Linked DNA regions of Homo sapiens: region 1 is linked to region 2. Evidence: promoter capture Hi-C in 16 types of primary human blood cells and fetal thymus (Javierre and others, 2016). All regions are on one chromosome and are shown on one strand. Each heading gives the region's core, a stretch centred on a gene start or on the middle of the fragment in contact. The rest is flanking DNA. Distances are from core to core; before and after follow the strand shown. Region 1 overlaps DYNC2H1 (dynein cytoplasmic 2 heavy chain 1). Region 2 holds the start of CWF19L2 (CWF19 like cell cycle control factor 2).

Region 1 (3,200 bases), core at 667-3,166, 4.3 Mb after region 2:
CCAGTCAGATTCCATTCCAGCCAGATTCCATTCCAGCCAGAGTCCATTCTAGCCAGAATCAGTAATAGTACAGATGAAAGCTGTAGGCTCCAGGTACACAATGAGTAGTGTGCTTCTCTAGTAACCCAGAAAGTCTATAACAAAATGTAATTAATTACCCTCTTACTTAGAAAAAGCATTTTAAAAGGTGCTTTTAAAATTATACATGCACTCAAAACTACCAAAATGAACTTAAGTTGTCTATCTCCTGAAATTAACTTTATCTTAACTGAAAATTTTTCCTTAAAGAGTTAAGAGCATAAAACTTTGTTAAATTGTCATATAGCTAGATTATTTTAAATCGGAACCAGATGAACTCAATTGGAATTCACTACAGCAATCTTGTTTAAAATAGGTCAGTTCATAGTAATGAGTTCATTAGCTGAGAACTATACTAGTCAAAGGAAGTTTTTGCATTATACACACATTCTCAGTTATTCTCATTTCTTTTTTCAGGAAAAGAAGTCTACACATTAAAAAGCTTTCAGACAAGGTCACTGCTGTGTAGGAAGAACAGCTATGGGTCTCATGCCACTTATTTCTATCCAAATAATTACATTTTTGGCCACTGGAAAGGAGCTGAAACTTTGTTACTGCTCAAATGCTTATAACATTTCATGACACATGAAAAGTATATGAAATCCACATGTCAGTGTCCATAAAGTTTTATTAGAACATAGCCATTCCCATTCAATTACATGTATTATTACAAAGTATTACATGTCTGCTTTCACACTACAAAGGCCAAGTTGTAGCTGCTAATGGAGCCCTTGTTGCCTGCAATATTATCTGACCCGTTACAGAAAACTTTTTGCCAACCTCTGTCCTAAAGCATAAACCAGATCACAGCTCTCTCTTGCTTAAGATTACCAATAACTTCCTATTTCAATTTAAATGGTATACAGTGTCCTAAATGATCAGCCTGTGCCTTATTCTCCTTTCTCATCTACCACAATGTTCCTTCATACCATAAACTCCAGCAATCACTCTGGATTTTTTTTCTTGCCCCTGGAAACTAAGTTAAAACCCAGCTCAGGGCCTTGGTACTTACAGTTTCTTTTGCTTAGAACACTCTTCCCCCAGGTTATGCCTGCCTGCAACTCATCATTCAAATCTCGCTTCAAAGATAACTAATCCAGAGAGGGATTATCTCCCACCCTATATATCTTTAGTTCCCCACGCTGCCCCATCACTACTATAACATTATTTTTATCTTAACGGCACTTATCAATACCCAAAATTATGTTACATATATCTGTAGCATGCGTTTAGCCTACCTTTGTCCATTCCAATGTTACTCCTTTAAGATACGGACTCTGTGTTCATGGCTTTGTCCCCAGTACTAGTAGGTAGGCAATAAATATTTGCTGACTTATTAACTTATTGAATCACGCTAACTATCAGGCAACTAAAGTACAACTGAAGACATAACAAAATATTTTCAAATATGACTAAAAACCTGTAGCGAAGTGTACAACTAAAAATAACAGATACATCGTTGGGCTTTACTAGTAATAGCTTTAACTTAAAAAAAAAAAGTTCTACCTTCAACTTTCAAATACCCAAGCCAAGATACACTTTCACGAATCCAAACCCCTTTCCATCTTTCCTACTGCATTCTATCCGAACTTTCAGTGGCATTTACAACAGTGTGTCCTGATTTTATCATTTGCTGAGTATATGTCATCCTAAGCCACTGGAGTGAGTCTAGGAAAGGCAGAAAGCAGGGGGCTCTATCCTGAACTACGCTACCTATTGGAGAAAAAGAAAAGTTAACATTTAGGTTGTAAATTTTGTCCCTTACTTTCCTCAGCCATAAAATAAGAAAAAGAATAGTTCCTATCTTACAATGTCGTTATGGCTATTAAATGAACGAATACATATAAAGTACTTAGAACAGTGCTTGACAGAGTCTAAAGTGAAAATAAATGTTAGCTATGATTATCCATCCTTTTTATATCTTTGTAAACCCATCATGCCTGGCAAAGTGCCTTGCATGTACTGAGTTCAAAGTAAATGTTTATTAAATACAATCGAATTAAACCTAAGAATAAAGATAGTGAATAGGGTGAATGATTCAATCATCCTATAAAAATGCACTGAAGCCAGGCACGGTGGCACACACCTGTAATCCCAGCACTTTGGGAGGCCAAGGCGGGTGGATCACCTGAGGTCAGGAGTTCGAGACCAGCCTGACCAACATGGTGAAACCCCATTTCTACTAATTGCAAAAAATTAGCTGGGTGTGGTGGCACATGCCCTGTAATCCCAGCTACTTGGGAGGCTGTGGCAGGAGAATCGCTTGAACCCGGGAGGCAGAGGTTGCAGTGAGCCAAGATTGTGCCATTGCACTCCAGCCTGGGTAATACGAGCGAAACTGCGAACTGCGTCTAAAAAAAAAAAAAAAGGCACTGAATGTTTTTGCTGAGTGTCAAAAACTCTGCTAGACCTAGGGATAAGGGTGAACACCAAAGGAAGAGGTTTAAAATATGTCTTTGTTTTATTAACTTAAATCTATTTACTGAGTCCCCTTTAATGTGTCAGGCAATTTTCTTCTGTGTTTTTCTTTTAGGCTTATATATATAAGCCCTGATTGCAAATGCAACCCATTTTTTAAGCAATCCTGCCAGTGGAGGGAGCAGTGCAATTAATAAATCAGTATATCACATGATGTACACCAAAAAAGAATTCAAACTTTATTTTGAAATATATCATTTCACAAAAATTTAAATTCCTAACTAATCTTTCCCTTGGGCAATGTTAAAATCAGAGCCTGATCCAAAAAAGATAGACTAGAATTTGCCTTCCCCCCAAAAAAAAAACTCAAAAAGGGGAGAGAAAAAAATAAAAATAACTAAGTAAATGTTTTCTTTTTAGTTATAACGTATCTGCAGTCTTTCTTAAAAAGTAGAATATAGGCCGGGCGCGGTGGCTCATGCTTGCAATCCCAGCACTTTGGGAGGCCGGATCACTTGAGGTCAGGAGATGGAGACCCACATGGCCAACGTGGTGAAACCCCCGTCTCTACTGAAAATACAAAAATTAGCCAGGCGTGGCGGCGCGCGCCTGCTACTCGGGAGGCTGAGGCACGAGAATCGCTTGAACTCAGGAGGTGGAGGACGCAGTGAGCAGAGATCGCGCCACTACACTCCATCCAGCCT
Region 2 (2,919 bases), core at 22-2,521:
TGTAAGACATACTTGTTTGTTATTTATAAGCCATCCATTCTATAATATTTTGTTATAGCAGCCTGAACTGATTAAAACACACACGTTTCTAATATAATCACAGTTTATTTTTATTGAATTGATGCAAAACAGTGAAATGGATGTTTTTCTGAATTCCAAGAGAATCTGAAAAGACGTTGATGCTAGTTATGACAAATATCAGTCAATGTAGTCAGTTGATTAAATATTACAAGGTCGATTAGTAAATTACATTTTAAAATAAAATGAATACTTTCTATTGCATATCAAACAAGTAGGCATTGTGTGTTCAAGATTCAGACTCATAGAATGGTAGTGAATGTAAAAACTCTTGGAAAGCTTCTTGCAAACACACATTAAATTTTATGAAACCTGAAGAGAAAGAGTATTTACCTCAACCTGGCTTATGTTACTTATTTTTAGCGTCTTTAAGGTATCGTTTATAATTAATTCCCCAGCCTTCTTCTTCTTGTAAATGTAAGCTTAGTGTCTTATGTTCTCAAAGCACTTCATCACCTTAGAATGTCTTATTCTTCTGAACTTAAAAGTTTTATGTTTGGGCGATACATGCGTAAAACAAAACAAAGAAATCTCCGCAGAAATAAATAAGTAACTGTCCATTGTAATGAAAAATGCTTGGATGGATAAGTATGAGTAAATAATATGGGGTCAGAGGAAAAAATATAATGTAAACTTCTAACAAGTTAAGCACGGGTAAATTGTGAAGTGCAATGCAAAATTCACATGAGTGTTTCATATATTAAGTAAAATCCACCAAAACAAAACACTGAATCTTCAAGGCAATTCTGTCCTTCCTGCCAGCTGCCACTACCTTTCTGGCAGCCTCCCTTTATCCCATTCCTCCAGCACAGGGAAATGATGCTCTGGCGACAAAGGGTACTTCCGCAGAAAACTTTTGAGAGGTACCAACTTAACTTCCAAGAGCTTGTAACTTACTCCGGTGATTTTAAGACGAAATTGGTGAGAAAGCTGTTAATATAGTAAAAAGTGCATAATAAATATATACGGGTATTAATCCTGCTCACAATCGCACCCAACACCTGAAAGAATTAAACCCTCCAACACCCTTCGGGTCTTTAAAATCTGGGCTGCGGTAATCCGAGCCCTAAGCGACCTCAGATGTGCGCATGCCCTGTTGGTGGAGCCGTGCTCCTCCTTCCTCGGGTCCGGAAGTCCCGGTTTGTTTGTTAAATTACGACCGTCGTAAACTAGAATTTTCTTGCGGCTTCTTAGCTTTACGATGGCAACAAGTATGGCGGCTGCTAGTGGTAGATTTGAAAGTGCGAAGAGTATCGAAGAGCGGAAAGAACAGACCCGGAATGCCAGGGCCGAGGTGTTGCGCCAGGTACCTCTGTTTTGGGGCTTTTGTAGTTATTTATTGTTGTGGGAGTTGAGGGTTCCCGTAAGCTAGCCCACTCACCCCTTCCCTTACCTCGTCAGTACTGAATCTCACCTTAATTTGGGTGAGTTCTCCCTTTGCAATGCCGGTAAACCCTTTTGTAGCTACCGATTTTTTAGATGTTCTGGCAGGTGCCAGTTGCTAATTCTCTTTTCAGGCAGATCTGTCGCTTTTTCTCCAAGTTTCTTTACCTTTTAAGTTACCCATTCTTTACATTTCTATCACTCGGACTGCACACTTTGTAGGTCCCCTGCGGCTTGTAAGGACTCTGCCAGCATGTCTCGCAGCCTCAGTCATTGCTACTGCTGTATCTGAAATGAGATTTTCCTTTTTCGGAAACACATTCAAGTCACACTTGAATAGACTCAGTTTGACATTTCCTCCTCCTGTCTCTATTGGTATCAATTCCAGACTTACTGTAAGCTCTTACCAATCCAAACAAAAGTTAACACCAATCTCAGTATATTTAGCCTGTCACAAAAGATCGCGAAACATTGTATTTCTCACTAAACTTCAGATACATAGAGGTAACATACAAAGAATGGAGAAAGTAAGCTTCTGAATTATCTGACAATCTATTCAATATGTAAGAAGTGTGGCAATGAAAGAGAAAAGTTGCAGTTGGAGAGCAACAGAGAATTCAGTGAGGGTTTTTGTTTTTATTTAAGTTGGAAGAGTTTTAAACAAGTTTAAATGCAAATGAGAAGGAGCCAGCAGAGAAGAGGGAGAGGAGACTCTAAAGGGAAAATGACATAGTTTCAAAATTTGGCAAATAATTTGAGGGTGAAGCAGCCCCATTCTCCTTTAATCTCCAATTTTCTCACCCTGTTCTTTGGAGTCCATCATAAGCCCTGCTCTTTTCTCTGATATCGATTTTTCTGTTTGGTATATAACCATTGTATTCATCTTCTTGCCTACACCAAGAATTATTATATGCACCCAGGGAAAAGCTAGCTGCAGAATGTTGGACTACCTCTCCATGATTTTCCCTTTTCTGGAATATTAACTCTTCTAGTTCTTGTTGCTTCAGCAGTTCTCTGATATAAACCTTTAATAAATTATTTTTATATTTGATTAAAAAAAAAAAGAAAATGACTACAGCCAGGTTTTAAAGGGGAAGAGTGGGCGATTAGTCTTGGGTAGGTGAAATGTTGGTATTGTTTCGTAATTTCAACATATGTAATGTGTGTGTGTGGGTATATATATATTATTCATTCTTTTCTCTTTGGTATTTCCAGCAGTTTTTGGAGGGAGTAAGTTTCGTAAGTTGAGATAAATCTTATAGTAGAGATATGCATAGAATTTGAAAAGGACCAAACTGAGCTTTGGAGTTACAGGGAAAGAAAGAGGGCAGGAACGATTTCCTAGGAAAAACTTGCTTTGTTTGACTATCATTGAAGAATGGATAAAAATTACCAATATGATCCTTTCTTTATACAGAGATGATTCTTCCTGAGGCATTTTTGGGGCTGGGTATTGGG

The links. Contacts are between HindIII fragments. The CHiCAGO score rates a contact against its expected background, and 5 or more counts as called.
Region 1: a fragment that was not itself captured here is called in contact with the fragment with the promoter of CWF19L2 in region 2 in 5 of 17 cell types (activated CD4 T cells, total CD4 T cells, naive B cells and 2 more); the score reaches 7.3 in activated CD4 T cells.

The regions. Positions count from the first base shown.
Region 1 is chr11:103,110,068-103,113,267 of GRCh38, reverse strand. All of the region lies in intron 1 of DYNC2H1 (dynein cytoplasmic 2 heavy chain 1), which reads right to left. Among named protein-coding and RNA genes, the nearest start is that of DYNC2H1, 2.2 kb to the right of the region's middle. The HindIII fragment of the contact is 2,788 bases long and covers 523-3,200 here.
Region 2 is chr11:107,456,177-107,459,095 of GRCh38, reverse strand. It overlaps CWF19L2 (CWF19 like cell cycle control factor 2), which reads left to right and starts at 1,271. Exons shown (of 18, transcript NM_152434.3): 1 at 1,271-1,384. The coding sequence starts at 1,280. RefSeq lists an enhancer at 987-1,492. The HindIII fragment of the contact is 1,493 bases long and covers 503-1,995 here.